Linked DNA regions of Homo sapiens: regions 1, 2, 3 and 5 are each linked to region 4. Evidence: promoter capture Hi-C in 16 types of primary human blood cells and fetal thymus (Javierre and others, 2016). All regions are on one chromosome and are shown on one strand. The core of a region is centred on a gene start or on the middle of the fragment in contact, and the rest is flanking DNA. Distances in the headings are between cores, read along the strand shown. Region 1 has its middle 24 kb from the start of DNM3. Region 2 has its middle 18 kb from the start of METTL13. Region 3 has its middle 3.9 kb from the start of VAMP4. Region 4 holds the start of PIGC (phosphatidylinositol glycan anchor biosynthesis class C). Region 5 has its middle 5.5 kb from the start of METTL13.

Region 1 (3,760 bases), core at 59-2,558, 630 kb before region 4:
ACCACCTCCCTCTGCTGACCCCAGTTCTGCCACTCACTAGCTGTCTGCACCTGACACGTTACTTGACGTTTCTAAGTCTCATTTCTCTTCATCTATAAAATGAAGTTGTGACCTTAGCTGTAATGGTATGTAGGGGGCACTCCATCCATGAAGACTACCAACAATAACAATCCAAGAAAATCATTATTTTGAACGTTAAAATATGTATTTTACTTTCTCCAAGTAATACAATGCTTTAGCGTAGTAAAAAACGCATATGCCTTCAGAAAGTCTTGAATTATGTACATATATATAGTCGTATTGACTTGTATTTGCATAAAGAAGCAGTGGAAAGACATACAAAGGACTATTTCATAATAGTTACTTAAGGGATGGGGACAGGTGCATGGGCTGGGGAGGATGGGGAGGACGAAGACAGGCACAGTAACAAGGTTTTTCAGTAGGTTCTCTTTCACATTGTTTTAATTTTTGAGCCATGGTTGTATCACCTATTTAAAAATATGAAAATAAGGTTGATGGGTGCAGCAAACCACCATGGCACATGTATACCTACTTATCAAACCTGCACGTTCAGCACAAGTATCCCAGAACTTAAAGTAAAATTATTAAATAAATAAAATAAAACATATAAAAATTAAAACATAAAATTTGGGGTGACTTTAATGGTGTGAATTTCAGGCAAGTGTTCAATGGTTCTCACCAAAAGGCCTGGGGTTCTTTTACCCCCATTGTTTTTTGCTTAACCCGTGTACTTTCCGGAGTTTTCTTCCCAACTTTTTCTCTTGGCTAACTCCCACTTCACCTCAGGTCTTGGCTCAAATATCACTTTCTTCCCGTATCCTCACTTTCTCTGCTATCCTGTGTGCTTTAGATTCTCCTCTCCTGTTTTCTCACGGGGTGTTATGAGAACTGCTGCTGTGATTTTTCTCACATTGGGCTGTAATTATTGATTAACTTGTCCTTCTACCCATTTGACTATGAACGCTTTGCCTCTATTCATAGCTTATAATAAATGTTCAAGAAATTTTTATTGAATGAATCCTGCCATGTAGGTGTAGGGACCTTATACCATGGAATTCTGGAGACAGCTTCGATTTCAAGCATTTGTTCCTTTGTTTCCTTAAGCACTAATCAGGCCAATGTACTGATTCTTCCTTTTCTCCCTACTCCCTTCCCTTCCCCTCCCCTCCTCCCTCCCTCCTTCCCTCCTTCCCTTCTTTTTTTTCTTTCTTTTTCCTTTCTTCCTTTTTCTAAAATACACATAAATGTGCTCATCTATTCTGGTCTTAATTGTAGTTGCTGAGTAAGAAGTAGAAATCTTTCAGCTCTGATGTTGACACAAACAAAGGCAAAAAATTATTTTTATATAATCCCAGGGCTGAAGGGAAACCAGGGGACTTAAAAGAAATTTAGAAGCTGTGTCTCTTCTATACGTAGACTGTGAGCTCTTTCAAAGCAGAGATGGCATCTTTTCCACCTTTGTGCCTCTGGTATATTGCACATGGCCTGTTACCTAGTATGTGCTCAATAAATGAGTGCTAAACTTAATTACAAAAATTAACATGGCATATTTTGCCTTCTCTTGAGAATTTTTGTCTGAAGTTGAAGAACTCTGTATTTTGAAAATTAAATCTATACAGAAGTAGGAAAATGGTAAAAATTATGGAATCGAGGGATAGATAGACCTGGATTCAAATTCATATTCTTTTTTCATCATTAACTGTAACTGCATGGCCATAGCTAAACCACTTAACTCATCTGAGCCTGTCCTCATTTGTAAAACACACACACACACACACACACACACACACACAGTCTCCCATGGTTATTAAAATAATTAAATGGGATAACCTAAGTAAAGGCCTTAGTACATGCTGAACACTTGGTACTTGCTTATTGTTATTTCATTGAACATGTTATGCTCAACAAGTTATCTAGCTAATATATGCAAAGTTTTGCAAGGCCAGGCCAAAGGCACAGGTCTTAAAATTATAAAAGCTGAAGGAGTTGCAACCAAGAAAGGAAATAATTAGGGAAGAGAGACTGGATCAGAAGCCAGGCAGCTAAGGGTACTGGCTTTTCAAATTGTGTTCTTTTGTTAAGACTAAAATTGGAAGACAGGAGAAGCAGGGCTTTTGGAATTGTGGATACCAAGCACCACTAAATGATTAAAGCAAAGTGCAGTGCTGGCTGGTGGCCGTGTGCTTGTTATCTTGGAAGTGCAACCCTTGTGTCCTGTATCTGATTCATTTTCAACAATTTTTTTTTTTTTTTTGTGGGTGGGGAAGAAAGAGGAGGGATGACAGAGAAAGGTTGGAAGATACACAGGAGAGATATTTGAGGGGAGGAGCAAATAGACTAATATTCTCAGTGCTTTTTAACTCATTGATTGCCAGGAGCCTGGGTGAGGCAAAGCATTGGTTTATTCAGCTTTTATTCAGCTCAGTGCCCTGTTGACAACACAATGTGTCTGAGTCACAGGGGGTCAAGTGACTGTAGCTTCTCTGATGAGTCACTGTCTTGTTTCCACTAATGTCTCCGTGGCTGGGGCCAATTTGTTTACTGAGAGAAAGCTACAGCTGTCTGCAGGTACAGACATTTGTACTCCAGAACTTACCAGCAGAGCCAAGCAGTGTGGATGTGAGGAGCTTTTGCACTCCTGGAAGGTCCTCACGGGTAACAGGCAGTGGGAGCTGCTTGATGTGATATGATGATGCTCTTTCCTTTGATTTGGTATCAAGAGAAGCAACTGTTTAGAATTAGAGCTCAGAGGATTGAGCAAGAGTTAGAAGGTGGGAACAGGACTAACATATATCACCCAGGAACCCAGTAAGACATATGGCATATTCACAGTAGGCAATTGAAGGGTGCTGGGTAGAGAGACTATTCACAAGGGTGTGAGCAGGGTTCAGGGAAACCAGCAAGGGATGGTGCAGGGTCTCAGAGAAAGCAAGTGTGGGGAGCCATTACTTGGCTGAAGAAGCATGAGTGGGGAGAGTGGCTATTGGAGCACGGGGGAGTAGAAGTTGGAGAAAGTCACCTGAGAGGAGCAGTGGCCATCATCTTAAGGCCACAGTCAACTTACAGTGAACCAACAGGGATGGAGTCAGGGTTATACATACCCACTTCACTCTCCTCCCACTCTCCCATTGGAGACCCTTATATTGGCCACATCTTACTGAAAGCCAGAGAGAAGGGAGTTGTTGACGTTGGCCACGCAGGCCAGCTCCTGAGGAAGAGAGCAGGGTGGAGAAGCTGGAGAGTGGCTCTGGGGGGATGCAGAAAATATCTAGCACAAGTCACTAGCTAGACAAGCCAGTTACCTCATGTGGGTCTCAGTTTTAATCATCGGTGAAATGGGAAAATCACTCTACCTTTTTGGCAGTGTTGTGAGAGTGGAGTTAGATAAAAGGATTTGAAAGGCCCTGAAGCGCTCTGCAAATGTTGAGTAAGAAGTTGCTCTATAGCTGCTACTTTTCACAGAGAAGGGAAATACTATGTTACTCAAGTAAATTCCTTCCCTCCTGGTTAGTTCACCACCCCTTCTTGAGATCTTACTTTCATGTAGCGCATACTGGATGCCAGGAGTGAGCATGGGGAACAAAGATGGGTGGGCTATAAAAAAATGTGATGACAGTTATAAGACATAGCCAATGCTCCGTCAATAGCCTATAATATAGTTACAAAGAAAGATATAAATAGGTGTGTAGTGTGTGTGTGTGTGTGTGTGTGTGTGTATGTGTGTATGTATTCCTATATC
Region 2 (3,690 bases), core at 875-3,374, 640 kb before region 4:
ATGAGCAGTGCCATGGAAAATAGGCATTGTCACCATTCACCACCTGGCTCTTCTTTCCACAGGCCCTTTAAAAATGGACCCTGACCTTTCAGTTGAAGCATACAGATGCTCTTCAGCCTACGATGGGGTTATATCCTGATAAATCCATCATAAGTAGAAAATGCATTTAATACCCTGATAACCCATTGTAAACTTGAAAAATTGTAAGTCAGAGACTGTCTGTATTTCAGTTAGGTTGTCATCCTTAGAAAGTAGTGTCAGTCTGTTAAGGAGAGGAGGGAGTGCAGAGAAGTGTTTTTAGATCTTACCCATTAGAAATACTTGGTTCTCTTTCTTTAGGAGGGGATCTTCCCCTGGAACCCCGTAACGGGAAGATTATCCCTCATGTCAGGTCTGTGTACCCCAGAGGACCTTACTTGGCAAGTCCTTTCTTTTTTCTTCCTTGTTTTTGAGACAAGGTCTCTGTCACCCAGGCTGGAGTGCATTGGCACCATCACGGCTCACCGCAGCCTTGACCTTTTGGGCTCAGATGATCCTCCCAACTCTCAGCCTTCCAGGTAGCTGGGACTACAGCATGTACCACCATACCTGGCTCATTTTTTGTAGAGACATCCACCTGCCTTGGCCTCCCAAAGTGTTGAGATTACAGGCATGAGCCACTGTGCCTGGCCACTCTATTTTTTTTTTTTCTCTTGAGCTTGTGCAGTGTCAGGATGGGTTATGGAGGCCCAGGGTCTGAGTCAGAGGAGCTCATCTGCCTGTCCTTGGTCAGATCACCCTCATGCTGTGCAGAGTTTGGAGCAGCACATTTGGGTGGCATGGCCAAGCTCTAGGCGTTATCAGAATAAGGTCTCAGTTAAATCTTAGGGGCAATGGTCTACAGAGGCACGAATTTACATGTCGCTTCCCACATTTGGAGGTGGGAAGAGACACTCATGGGTGATGATTATCAAGACTTAAGTATAAAAGAAGAAGGAAATTGGTTATGTGCTGAAGGCTGGAGAAAGACCAAGGGACAGAAGTGAGGCAGTTTTCGGCTTAATTTCCTACAAATGAAATTTGTACCAACGAAGACCAGTGTGTTCACCAGAACACTTGGTGGCTGCAGCCTGCTTACTCAAACCCTAGTCTGACTCCCCTCTGGAGCTTGCTGGATTGTGAGGAAAGTGGTGTGTGTACAGACAGCCATTGGCCTGAATCCCATCTTTTCCACTGGAGAGCTTTTCACTTTTGCCTTAATGACAAGCAAATGGTTCCTTATGGGAATTTTGCCTAACTTTAGGGGTGAGCGCTCTAGAGGAGGGGGGAGGGTTAGAAGCTTCAATGCCTACCAGACCAAGCAAGTAACAAATATGTGGAGTGAGTGAGCCAGGTATAAAACAAAAAGGCTAGGATGAGACCTGTGGCAAACCAGAGAATAAATATCCCCTCTAAAGGCAGCGGCTGTCCCAGCTGAGCTGTCTTGCAGGAGCACTGTCTTAGCATAGCTAGGTCTTTAAGAGAAGCCAGAAATCTCGTGCGTGTGTGCGTGTGTGTGTGTGTGTGTGTGTGTGTGTGTTGACATTAAAATGTTGGCCAATCAGTATACATTTTCAAGTTATAATCTATTTTGCATAGAGAGATTATAGGGGAGATAGCCTATGGAATTCCTGAGAATCTGGCATGCACCCAGCTTCTGAGTACAAAACAAGGAGCAAGCTGATAGCAATGAGTTACAAAAGTCTGGAAAAGTCTTATCTATGACCTCAATTTTCTTTAATGGCTACAGCTGAGTGGGGATGGTCCCATCATCCTTGGGAGAGTGTACAATTTAGCTTCCCAGGACTATCAGAGAACTGAATGAGAATAAATCACATGACAGTTTGTGCCCTCGCCCCTCCCCCCATCCTAAAAAAGTTCTGTGACAATGTAAAATTGGTAAGCCTGCCTATTGCCCTTCTCTGCCTTTTTGCCCTTGTCCCTCACCAATTTTTCAGTGTGTGCCTCCAGTCTTCTGTCATGGCTGCCTGCTAACTGGGCCTCTTCTCTAAGTCTGTCTTCTTATGGATTGGGTAGACCAGTAGTTATTTTTTTTTTTTTTTTGAGACAGGGTCTCACTCTGTTGTCCAGACTGGAGTGAAGTGGTATGATTTTGGCTCACTGCCACCTCTGCCTCCCAGGCTCAAGCAGTCCTCTTGCCTCAGCCTCCTGAGTAGCTGGGACTATAGGCGCACACCACCATGCCCAGCTCATTTTTGTGTTATTGGTAGTGACAGGGTTTCACCATGTTGTCCAGGCTGGTCTCGAACTGCTGGGCTCAAGCAATCTGCCTGCCTTGGCCTCCCAAAGTGCTAGGATTACAGATATGAGCCACAGTGCCTGGCAGAACCAGCAGTTATTCTCAGCTGCACATTGGAGTCATTGGATATGGTAAGCAGAATAATGTTCTCCCAAAGATGTCCATGTCCTAATCCTTGCAACCTATGAATGTTATGTTACACTACACAACAAAGGGAAATTAATGTAGCAGATGGATTTGATGTTGCTAATGAGCTGTCTTTAAAATAGGGAGATTATTCTGAGTAATCAGATACAGACACTGGGTGGACTCCACGTAATCTCAAGGGTCTTAAAATGTGGAAGAGGCAGGCAGAAGACTCAGTGTCAAGAGTGAAGCAATGTGAGGAAGACTCACCAGTCATTGCTGGCTTTGAAGACCATAGGCCACTAGCTAAGGAACATGGGCAGCCTCTAGAAGCTGGAGAAGGTAAGAAAACTAGAGCTTCCCTAGAGCTTCCAGCAGGGAGTGCAACTCTACCAATACCTTCAATGTAGCTCAGTGAGACCCATTTTGGACTCCTGATACGGAACTATAAGATAAGAATTTGTGTTGTTTTAAGCCGCTAAATTTGTAGTAACTTTACAGCAGCCATAGAAATTGAATATATCTGGGAAGCTTTAAAAAAATGCCTAGGCCTGGCCCCACCCCCACAGACTCTGATTTAATTGGTCTGGGGTGCAGCCTGTGCATAAGAATTTTAAAAAAGCTTTCCAGGTGATGGATGCTGTTTTGCAGCCAAAATTGAGGACCCCTGGAGAAGAGGTTCTGTGGATGGATATGTCACAAGGTAAGGAGGAAGGAATTGCCAGCTAGTCTCATTAATGACTGCTGGCTTAGCTCTGAAATGCAAACATCAGCAGTCACTTGGTAATTGGAACATACTCCCCTCCGACCTTCACATTAGCCCACACCTTAGCTCTTTGCCCTTTGAGTGATGGCAGTAGTGTGAGGAGTCAGCTTGTTGCATTGGACGATTTCCTCCATGGGGCACAGCAGCCTCACTCCCTGCTATAATTGGGCCCTGAGTGTACCTCCTAAGGACTGCTTAATAAAGCTCAAAGTCTAGTAAACCATAAGTCATACAGTTTCCCTCTTGTGGCTTGTCTTGCCATTTGATTCCTGCAGATTTGTTAACAGCTAAATGGTCGATAATAAAAACCATTAAGTTGGATTTTTCTTTTTTATATACCCAACTGGCATTTTTTTGGAGAGGTTGTTCTGTGCCAGACACTGTGCTTGTGTTGATAAAAAGAGGAAAGATAGCTTCTGCTCACCAACTAGCTGGGGAGAACAAATTACACAGCACGTGGATGACTTCAGCAACCACCTGTGCATAAAGTGTAAGGGCAGCATACAAGATGGTCAGATGT
Region 3 (3,598 bases), core at 751-3,250, 700 kb before region 4:
ATGTTAGTCCTCTAATTTTCTTTTCCCCTTTTTCAACATGACACCTTCATCCTTAAGAGGGCCTGCTGTCCTCCTAGCTAGAGAATCAGCGTTTTGCTGTCTTTCAGGACTAAATCTCTGGGTTTTTGATGGGATAGCAAAGGGAATCTCAGCATCTGATTCATTCTTAAACAGACTTTATACCATTCCGCCTGTATTTATAGCTCACATCATGCTCTCTTCAGCTTTACGTGGTGTTTCCAATTCCTGAGCCTTATACAGGGTTTCACTGTGTGTATCAGGTTGCTTCATGGCCTGCTTGGGATTCCTACTTTTCAAGTCTGCTAAGGCAATTGCATCTTGATTCATCTCCCTTCTAGCTTTCAATATTTTGTTGCTAAATGTTCAACATTACTTAAAATGTAAAAGTGAACAAGGAAATACCATTTTTCATCTATCAGTGACTGAGAAAGAAGGAGTTGAGCAGAAGATCTGCAATCCAGTCTCTCCCTTCGTAGGGAAATACTCTCAGGAAAGCAAGGTTAAAGCAAGCAAAAAAGCATGTGATTTTTATAAAATATAAAGTATATACTAATTACAGACCTCCTGGCAAACAAACTAATGGCATTTGCTAGCAAGAGAGTCCATATTTACGGAATTCCTCTAACAGGATGTCCCAGGGCTGGGATTGTTTATGGTAAACACATTAAGAATCGATGTGGTAATTCCAGCACTTTGGGAGGCTGAGGCAGGTGGATCACTTGAGGTCAGGAGTTACCAGCCTGGCCAACATGGCAAAACCCCGTCTCTACCAAAACTACAAAAATTAGCTGAGTGTGGTGGTGTACACTTGTAACACCAGCTACTCAGGAGGCTGAGGCAGAAGAATAGCTTGCACTGGAGATGCGGAGGTTGCAGTGAGCAGAGATCGCGCCACCGCCCTCCATCCTGGTCAACAGAATGAGACTCCCTCTCACAAAACAAAAAAGAATCAATGCGGATTTCAGGGGTATGATTAACTGGAAAATACCGCGGAAGTTATGTAACGTAGCATAAAATGGAAGTGTTTTGTAACTGATTTGGCTCCTTCTGTGTAAGTGGGGTGACTGTACACTTGATTTAGAAACCACATCTACTGTCCTGGGCCAGGATGCATCCAAAGCAAGAAGAAAGGACCTGGGGATTACTGGTATCCTTGAAACTATTAGTAAAGCTTGATACTGAGTAAAATCTCTGATTTGAGCCTGATTTGACAGTTTGATCTTTTGTGTTAGCTCAATAGCAAAAATAAAAAAAATTTGATACTACAATATTGGGTGTGTGTATGTGTGGTATGGGAGCAGCGTGGGAGGAACAAGCATTCTTAAACAGTAAGAGTATAAAAATTGGTGCATTTTTAAAAATTTCATGGTAATTATATGTATCAAAATTTTATATGAAGTTCTTTTTGATCTAATAATTTTACTTCTAAAATTTATCCCATGGGTATACAGGTTGTATATAAAAGTATTCTATAAAAATATCTGTTACAGGATTTTTGTAACAGAGTGAAAAAAAAAACTCTAAATGTTCAGCAATAGGAAATTGCTGAAATGAGTCATAGTCTAGCCATTCAATAGAATAGTATGCAGCCATTAAAATGAACTAGATAGATCTATATGTGCTGACATGGAATACCTCTATGATGCTATAAGGTGAGAAAAGTAAGGTGCAAAATAGTGTGTAGACTCTACTTCCATTTGAGCATCACACACACACACACACACACACACACACACACACCAGGAGGACTGTGAATCTGGCATGGAAAGTGTTATGGACTGAATTATGTCCCCTCAAAATTCATATGTTGAAGTCTTAACTTCCAGTGTGACTAGATTTGGAGATAGGGCCTTTAGGACAATAATTAAGGTTAAATGAAATCAAAAAGGCAAAACCCTAATCCTGTAGGGCTAGTGTCTGAGTGCATGGGCACAGAGAAGAGGCCATATGAGAACACAGAAGATGGCCATTTGCAGTCCAGAAAGAGAGGCCACACCATAAGCCAACCCTGATGACTCCTTGATCCTGGACTTTTAGCCTCTAGGACTGTGAGAAAATAAATTTCTGTAGTTAAGCCACCTAGTCCATGGTATTTCATTATAGCAGCCCTAGAAGACTAATACAGAAGGGAAACTTTCTTGATGTGTAGTGTTTTGTACTATTGGAATATCTTTACCATGTATATCAGTTTTTCAATTAAAACAATGGTAGAGGCACTCTCTTCCCCTAAAATTGGGACCACTGGACCAGTTAATTTAAAAAGTCAGTTACAGTGGTACATATTTAAAAATGGCAAATATATACTTTAGTCATTTTATTTTGACTCAAATGTATATGTTCACTCACCAGTCTTGGTAGTAGGCCCAAGACCTTTTATCTGAGCATGAATTTGCTGGTTGGAACACCTGCTTTGTCTTTGTTACAAGTTGCATTGTTTACAGTTTACAGTTTCATTTTCTTCAAAGTGGAATAAGAAGTTAAAGACACCTTTCAAGCAATTTGAATGCCCAGTCAGTCTAGATTTTTGTACAATTTTTTCTCCAAAGTTTTACAGGTTTGTCTTACCTGTGCCTAGTTCTATAGTAATTTTTGTTTGTTGTTCATGTTTATCAATTTAGTTTTTATAGAAAATAACTTTCTATTTGTATTTCATTAGTTTACATATTTAAATATATTCTATAAGTATAATAGGCATAAATACTTTGGAGTACAAATGCAAATTGACTCTTGTAAGCATGTAACTCAATTAGTTTGGAGAAGAAGTATACAGATATCATGTAGTTAACCATAAGCTTTTCATGCTTAGAGTGCCTTGGTGTTATATAAATATGATATTAGTTTATTTTAGTTTTGATTTTGAATGCTTTTAAATCCTCTATCCAGATTCATTAATAACGCTTTTCTAATGCTGACCTCAACTCCTAAATGGATTTCATGACAGTGTGAATAAAAACAAAATAGTTCAGCCCTCTTTTTGTCTCCAGGTAGATGAAGAAACAGAGTGCCAGAGAGTTTACGTGGTTTGTTAACATTTCACTAAGTTTGCTTTATTACTTCTCTTTAAATTTATATCTCCCCTCGGCATGCATTATTTGAAAATTAGTTATAGCTATCATGCCTCTTTACCCCTAAATACTTCATTAGATATCTCCTAAGAACAAGAACATTGTCTTCATAACTGTAATTCAGTTGTCAAATTCAGAAAATTTAACATTGATACAATATTATTTTCTATCAAAGCATCCATATCAAAGTTTGCCAGCCGTCTCAGTTATGTCCTTTGCAATGTGAGTATAGTCTACAGAGAAAATAGTAATGAGTAACAAAGCAAGAGGAATTTAGTTTTTAAAGATAAGTTCAACTATAGTTTAATTATTTTTAATATATATAATAATATGGGAAATGCCCTGATGCCTTCCTCATGAAACTTTAGATGTGACATTATAAGATGGTCTCAGGGAGGTGCTTTGTTTCTCTTCTAACTGTTCTTGTTTATTGAGGTAGTGACATGTTGCAAGAATTTTATCTTGGAGAAATTACCTCCCACAAAGATGGCAACATTAGAAGAACCTGCATA
Region 4 (3,792 bases), core at 1,187-3,686:
CATGCTGCTTCCAGAATGGAACTCTGTCTTTAAGTTCTATACTAGTTAGGAGGCTAATCTATCAGCTTGCTTTAATAATGTAATGGATGTCCTAATTTAACTGAGGAACCTGGACAAGTCTTCCTTGATTTCAGCTTCATCCCAAGGCCCATGAATGTTTTCTTTAAAAAGCTGCAAGCGAATGAGGTAGAATGGACACAGACATGAGATAGACATCAGCAGAAGGGCAAAGAGTACGGCTCCCACAGCACTAATGGACAGTAGGCCTCCCACGGCTGAAAATGCAAAAAGCAGTGTGACCCCCACATAGCTCCGGGGAGTACATGCCTTTAGTTTCTTCTGCAACATGGGCCACAGGGCAAAAATCTGAATGGCAAATGTCACCATGATGAAGGCATGCAGGGACCGGGGAAGACGTGATGCCAAGCATACAGAAGCAAAGATGGCCATGTTCAAGGATAGTGTGCTGGATACAATGGCAGCATTGGCACCATAGTCAAAAAAGATGAGATGGCCTAACAGCATGAAGACTGACATGGCATAGATGGTGTCAGTGCTGACAGACTCTGTAAGGGTCTTCAGCACTGGTGAAAACCCATAAGTGAAAGTAATGAAGACTAGGGCACTCTTCAGGTCAGCCCACCGGGTCTGCCCACTCTTCTTCCGCCCTTCACCTCCATCAATGAGATCAAACAAAACATACCCAATCAGTGAAGAAGCCAGACCAGTCCCTAAAAGCCAATGGGGGGCCAGAAGACCCTCATCCATATACCACCAGATAACCACAAAAACACAAACACTGCACAGCTGCTGGATCACCACACTGGACTCAAATACCACAGCCCAATATTGGTATTTCCGAGCATGGATGTTTTTCCGGAGCTCTTCCAGGAATCGCCGGTCCACATAGTTATCAGGAAAGGGCTGTCGCTCATACAAGACCTTCTGCCACTTGACCTCCTTGGTGTTAGTCACAGGTTGAGCATACATTATCCTTTCATTCAAACTCAGGCCAGTTTAATCATCGCCCTCACAGAAGTCCAGGTGGTTCTTGTTCTTTATGAAGTTTTGAAATGAGACCTCCCTGGAAATTCCATGCTGTGTTGATGTTCTACCAACCTTTCCTTGTTTTCAAAGGCAGGGGCTAGGCCTACAATAGATGAATTTGTCTCTGAGGCAGGACAACACAGCCAAGTTCCTAGAAAAAGAGAGACTGTGAACCTACGAAAGTTGTGAAAGGTCAAGAGTAGTACTGAGATAAAGTCAAATCAACTCAGTTTACTAAAAGTCTGAGAAAAATGTATGTGGTAGTCACCTTATGGGACATTAAAACTGCATTTCAGATTTGAAAATTATAATTCCTTGAATAATAATAGACATCTGTTAGCTATCGCTTATTGAGTACCTACTATGTGCTAAGTGCCTTATGTATCTTCTTTCACTTAATCCTCACCACCTTGTAAGTTAGTATTAGTCCTGCTTTGGTAAAAAAGCTGAGATTCAAGATGCTTAAGTAACTTTGCCCTAAGGTAACAGAGCAGAGCCAGGATTCAAACCAAAGTCTTATCCCAAAGCCTGTGTCTCACATTGTATCTCCCTCTAAAGCAGTTCTTAACTCAGTGGTTCACATATCCCTTAGGTATATCACATTGCATGCTTATATCTGGATTTGTGTAAATTTATAGGGATAATATCCATAGTTTTTATTGGTTCTCAAAGGCATGTTATTTGTATTTTTTAAGTTACCAATCCAAAGACAATAGTAAGCTGCACCATACAGAAAGGTATGAGCTCTATAGTTTAACCAAAATCAAAGCCTCAAAGAAACTAGACTCTTCTTCCATTAGCTGAGCTTAGCATCCTTTAAAGAGCTATCAATCTACTCAAAACAAGGAAACTCTTGAGAGGATCGAAGAAGATAATCATTCCTTTTTCACAATGAGAAAACTAAGAGTCAGAAACACCACAGCCATCCGGCAAATTTGAGAAAAAAAAAATTCATATTGCCCGACTTTATTTCTTCCATGATAGACCACAACAAATATTGCTTGGCAAGCCAGACACCGTTACCCCCTCTGCAGCAGGGATCCCAGCCCGGGAATCTTAAGGCCGCCGCCGGGGTTGGAGGGTCTGCGACGCCCAAAAGGGCAGCGCCCGCCCGCAGAGTGGGGCTGGGAGGGGACGGGGTAGGGTAGGGTGACCCCAGGGTGCGCCTTCACTCTTCTGGCACCCCATTTGGCTTTTTGGGTGGGCCTCCCACTTCCGCCGCCGCCCCTCACTCAGCCTTGGGTCTGCGGGAGGCAGCAGAGGAAAAGGAGCCCCGGAAACACTGACCGTTACACGGAACCCACCTACCCGAGAGTTCCTAGGGTTGCGCAGCTGGGGGACGGCGGCACCCAGCCTTTTTCCCGCTTCGGGGCGCCGGGGCTGCGACTGTGGCCAAGCACTTCCGGGTCCGCCGCAATCTCCTTAGCGAGGGCACCCTTCCCCGGCTGGAACCATCGCGACGTGACTGCTGCCCCCTCCTGGCTGCTCGAAGGACCTCCGGTCTCCTCTCCTGGAGACTGGCCCAAACCCGAATGCTCTGAGCCTAGGAAGGCAAATCCCCAGCAATCCCCTATTGAAAGATGGGATGTGCCATCTGAAGGACTGGGTAAGGCAAGAGAGGACAAGGAAAGAGGCTGGGCCAGTAGGTGAGAGATAATGGCCGCTTTTGTTGCGCTCCTTTATTAAGTCAGGCCCTCAGCTGGGACTTCCCGTGCATCCATGCGTTCATTCCACAGATACTGATTGAATGCCTGCATGTAACAAGCCATGCTTGGGGTGCTCATGATACAGCCGTGAATGAAACACACAAAAATTGCTGCTCTCATGAAACTCTCTTTTTTGGTGCATTGACCTTTACACTGATTATATCATCTCCCCCCTCAAAGAGGACAAATCTAAGGCTCAGATAAGTTGTATTTGTCCAAAGACAGGCACCTGGGAAGTAGATGAACAGAGATCAATATCCAGTTGTCTATAGCTTCAAAGCTTGGTTTTTTTCCTCTTTACCTCCTAAAAGAAGTGAGGACAAGATTGCTAATTAAACTGAGTTCATGGAAATATTAAAGGATATATAAACAGAAGGAAGTAATAAAGAAACAAAGGGATGTAGTAAAACACAGGATACAGTGGAAATAAAAGTCAGAAAACATGACCCATTTACTAGCTCAGTGACTCAAGGCAAATCACACTACCTGAGCTTTGATTTCTTCATCAGTAAAATGGAGATGACATTATTTGCACTTGGCTACTTTATAGGATGGTTAAAGAGTTAAATATAAAAATGGTTTGTAAAGTGTTCACTATATGGCTGCTATTAGCTGACTTTGGCCATCGTAATGATAGCAATGTTTAAGTGTGATATATTCTGTAAAATGTTCTCTATTTCCCTCTAGGCTTCTGTTCCAAAATTTGACAAGATTCCTTGGCTTAGTGAGGCCAGCCTTGTAAACAAGCCATTAGTGCTCAGCCTTCCCAGAAGGTAACCTCTCAGCCACCGAGGGCAAAAGTTTTACGAAACATCTCACAGAAGATGATTTCTTCTTAAGGGATGGGGACAATTATCAGAGGGCACATTTGATCCATTGAGAAACTCAAGTCAAGTGCTTTAAAAATAGAAATAATCCGGGTTTCTCAGAAAAAAATGATCACTGAGTATAGGCCTGGCTAGAGGAGATGAGATCTCAAAATTTTTCCCTCTCCACCACTACCACTCAACAGTATAAGATAATTTTTCCCCTAGACACT
Region 5 (3,472 bases), core at 764-3,263, 670 kb before region 4:
CATAGCAAGACTACTCATAATAGCCAAATAGTGGAAACAACCCAAACTCCCTCTATGGATAAATAGATATACCACATTTATCTACACAATGGAATATTATCAGTCATAAAATGGAATATATATATACTGTTGTATGCTATGACAAAGATGAACCTTGAAAACATTATACTAAGTAGAAGAAGTCAGACACAAAAGACCACATAATATATAATTCTGTTCATGCGAAACATCCAGAATAGGCACATCTATTAAAGACAGAAAATAGGTAAGCAGTTTCAACAGGAAGGAGGGGAAAATAGGACTAATTGCTAAGAGGTAGGGATGATGGAAATGTTCTGGAATTAGACAGTGGTAATGATTGCACAGCATTGTGAATGTACTAGAAAACACAAAAGTGCATACTTTTTTATTTTTTATGTTTTGAGACAGGGTCTCACTCTGTCACCCAGGCTGGAGTGTAGCGGTACAATCACAGCTCACTGCAGTTTTGAGCCACTCCCACCCCCAACCCTGCCAGCCCCAGGCTCTGGTGATTCTCCCACCTCAACTTCCCAAGTAGCTGGGATCATATGCATACACCATCATGCCCTGCTAATTTTTAAATTGTTTTGTAGAGACAGGGTCTCCCTATGTTACCCAGGCTGGTTTTGAACTCCTGGCTTCAAGTAATCCTCCTGCTTCAGCCTCCCAAAGATCTGGGATTACAGGTGTGAGCCACCATGCCTGCCCAGTGTACACTTTTAGATGGTGAATTTTATGTGAAGCATATCTCAGTTCAAAAAATCTTATTAAAAAAAAATCAGCCCAGCATGGTAGCTCATGTCTAGATCATTCTGATTCCAAATCCCAACCTTAACTTCTGTGCTATATAGTTTCTAGCTAAGGGTTCCCTCTTCTGTCAGCTGTCTTCAGAAATATACCATATTCTCTGAGGACATTTCTCTTTTGAGTCTTCAAACACCAGAGCTTACATGATGAACTGTTTAAAATTTTTTAAAAATTAAAAAAATGAAAAACATCAGAGCTGCTGCTTGGATGAAATTTTGACACGTGGAAATTTTTTTTCTACTGTATGTCAGCAGTGAGGATGAAGATATACTATTCAAAGATGAGATGAATTAAGAACAGTAAAATGTTTTGGCACCATAATTTGTGATTCTTCTTAGGAAAAGGTCATTCGTGCAGCCCCATGGCAAGAAAACAGTTTTAGTTTTAGAGAAGTATTACATACTATAACTTTTTTGTTGGACTAAAGGGAGTTTTGTTTTTCTGGTTTCTTTGAGGACTCTGGATCTGAACGTTAAAAAATCCTCTGGGTGGAGTACTCAAGTGAATTTTATTTATTAAATGCTGTTTTAAAATCCATTCCCTTAGTGGTAGAAAAATATTGTTATGGGCTGAGGACAGAGAGCATCTATAAAAATGGGATACATGAGATGGTCATGGGTTAGAGTGCTAGAGTGTAGGAGAAAAACAAAATGTTTTTCAAGTTTTTCTTTTCCTGCAAAGAAACTGAAGTTTGGAATAAAATTATGAAGAAAACAGTCTAATAGCTTACCCTTGTGGTTTTTCCCAGTATCCAGGCTGTAGAAAACAAAGACAGTCAAAAGGAGGCTTTGTGAGCCCCCTCATATAGGGGTCAAATGTATTCATGCACAGCCTGTTAACCTTGGCATCATTCCTTCATCTCCCCAGTCTTGCAGCTTTCAAAATGTTATTGCCTACTGGCCCCAAAGGCAAACAACTTGCAATGTATAATATGCCCTATATTAATGCCTTGCAGTCCATGCATATGAGGAAACCAATCCATCAACAGACGCCCTTAGTGACAGAGTAGGAAACTACTGCACAAAGAAAATCCTGGGAATCAAATACAATACCAGAGGCAGTCACGGCTCAATTCGCTCAGTCATATATAACTTTTTTTTTTCACTTACTTGTAATCAATTGGAATTTTGCCTTAATTATATATGTATAGGTATATATATTTAAGAAAGCAGTGTGTAATCATCTATGTTGAAACGAATTTGTTAATCTTGTACAAGGCTGGCACATTCACCCAAAGGGATTCTCTGCCAATGTGAAAATTAACTCTGTAGCTCTGAGCCTCTCCTTCCCATGGATTCAGTGTATGAGAAAAATTCTTGGCCAATCACAAGTGCTATACAAACTAAAAAATACTATGATGCACTGGGCATGGTGGCTTACACCTGTAATCCTACCGCTTTGAGAGACTGAGGTGGGAGGATCCCTTGAAGTCAGCAGTTTGAGACCAGCCTGGGCAACATAGGGAGAGCCTGTCTCTACAAAAATATATATTTTTTTAAATTAGCCAGGCATGGAGGCTCGTACCTGTAGTCCCAGCTACTTGGGAGACTGAGGTGGAAGGATCACTTGAGCCCATGAAGTCGAGGCTGCAGTAAGCTGTGACTGCACCACTGCACTCCAGCCTGGGTGACACAGTGAGACCCTGTCTTATATAAACAAACAAACAAACAAATAAATAAATAAATAAGTAGCTATTATCATCATCCCAATCTTAGGAATCCAATATCAGCTTGATAGTCACTTTTCAGGTCAACAATATCGTCAAGAAAAGTGTTGACACTCAGCTAATAAAATGGCAGAATGTTACCCTAGGATGTTATTGTGTCTGCCTTCTATTATCCCAAGATACAGGAGAACATTCATTTTTAAACTTCTCAAATGTGGAAAACAAACCCATTTGCTAAGATGATTTCCAATTTGAAATAGTTTCCAGCATTATATGAGCCACTCCCTGTACACCAAAGAGACATTCCCTTTACTTAATTTTATATCCCACTCGTGAAACATTTTCATGTGTTGGACCTACCAACTCCAACTGGATACCACTGACAGGAAGTGAGAAGGGTATGAGCCCTGGGGTAGGCATGCAGGGTGGGGAGACTGGCTTTTAGCTCTGGCTCTGGTTTTTACTGGAGTGATAACCTCTAAATTCTTTTCTAGCAACAGTTCTACAAATAATACCCCTTTCTCCTTCCCCGTTTCTTTCTACAGACTATTTCTTCAGTCATCCAGAGGCCGATGTAGGAGTCATTTATGAGTCCCTCAGTCTTTTATTCCCCCTATTCAATCAGTCATCAAGTGCCTCAGTCTTTCCTGAGAACATCTCTCAGATCAGGTCTTTCTGTCATGACTCTGCTTCTCTGTTGACTTCCTGTGGCCTGACAGGCTGAAGCTAAATATGTGGAATAGAAGACTCCTCAAAACCTGCCCTTTACCTCAGCCTCTAGTTGTATCTTCTGCTGCTTTCTCCCCACTGTGACCTTCTGCCCCAACCACACATACTCTCTCTCTCTCTTTCTCTCTTCTGTTTATGTTCCGTATTAGTTTCCTATCACTACTGTAACAAATTACCAAAAACTAGTACTATATGCAATACAAATTTATTATCTTACAGTTGGATCAGTCAGAAGTCTGACAAGTCTCA

What was found. Contacts are between HindIII fragments. The CHiCAGO score rates a contact against its expected background, and 5 or more counts as called.
Region 1: a contact is called between a fragment that was not itself captured here and the fragment with the promoter of PIGC in region 4, in 1 of 17 cell types (naive B cells). The highest score is 5.0, in naive B cells.
Region 2: a contact is called between a fragment that was not itself captured here and the fragment with the promoter of PIGC in region 4, in 16 of 17 cell types (total B cells, naive B cells, naive CD8 T cells and 13 more). The highest score is 15.3, in total B cells.
Region 3: a contact is called between a fragment that was not itself captured here and the fragment with the promoter of PIGC in region 4, in 1 of 17 cell types (total CD8 T cells). The highest score is 5.2, in total CD8 T cells.
Region 5: a contact is called between a fragment that was not itself captured here and the fragment with the promoter of PIGC in region 4, in 4 of 17 cell types (total B cells, naive B cells, total CD8 T cells and 1 more). The highest score is 7.4, in total B cells.

What each region holds. Positions count from the first base shown.
Region 1 is chr1:171,815,368-171,819,127 of GRCh38, forward strand. No RefSeq gene overlaps it. Among named protein-coding and RNA genes, the nearest start is that of DNM3, 24 kb to the right of the region's middle. RefSeq lists enhancers at 1,655-2,641, 2,642-3,627. The HindIII fragment of the contact is 6,424 bases long and covers 1-3,760 here.
Region 2 is chr1:171,797,761-171,801,450 of GRCh38, forward strand. No RefSeq gene overlaps it. Among named protein-coding and RNA genes, the nearest start is that of METTL13, 18 kb to the left of the region's middle. The HindIII fragment of the contact is 1,617 bases long and covers 1,317-2,933 here.
Region 3 is chr1:171,744,149-171,747,746 of GRCh38, forward strand. No RefSeq gene overlaps it. Among named protein-coding and RNA genes, the nearest start is that of VAMP4, 3.9 kb to the left of the region's middle. The HindIII fragment of the contact is 1,621 bases long and covers 1,191-2,811 here.
Region 4 is chr1:172,441,633-172,445,424 of GRCh38, forward strand. It overlaps PIGC (phosphatidylinositol glycan anchor biosynthesis class C), which reads right to left and starts at 2,437. Exons shown (of 2, transcript NM_153747.2): 1 at 2,356-2,437; 2 at 1-1,198. The coding sequence starts at 990. The coding sequence ends at 97. It overlaps C1orf105 (chromosome 1 open reading frame 105), which reads left to right. Exons shown (of 7, transcript NM_139240.4): 2 at 3,441-3,526. RefSeq lists enhancers at 2,269-2,792, 2,516-2,825. The HindIII fragment of the contact is 3,601 bases long and covers 1-3,031 here.
Region 5 is chr1:171,774,448-171,777,919 of GRCh38, forward strand. No RefSeq gene overlaps it. Among named protein-coding and RNA genes, the nearest start is that of METTL13, 5.5 kb to the right of the region's middle. The HindIII fragment of the contact is 4,827 bases long and covers 1-3,472 here.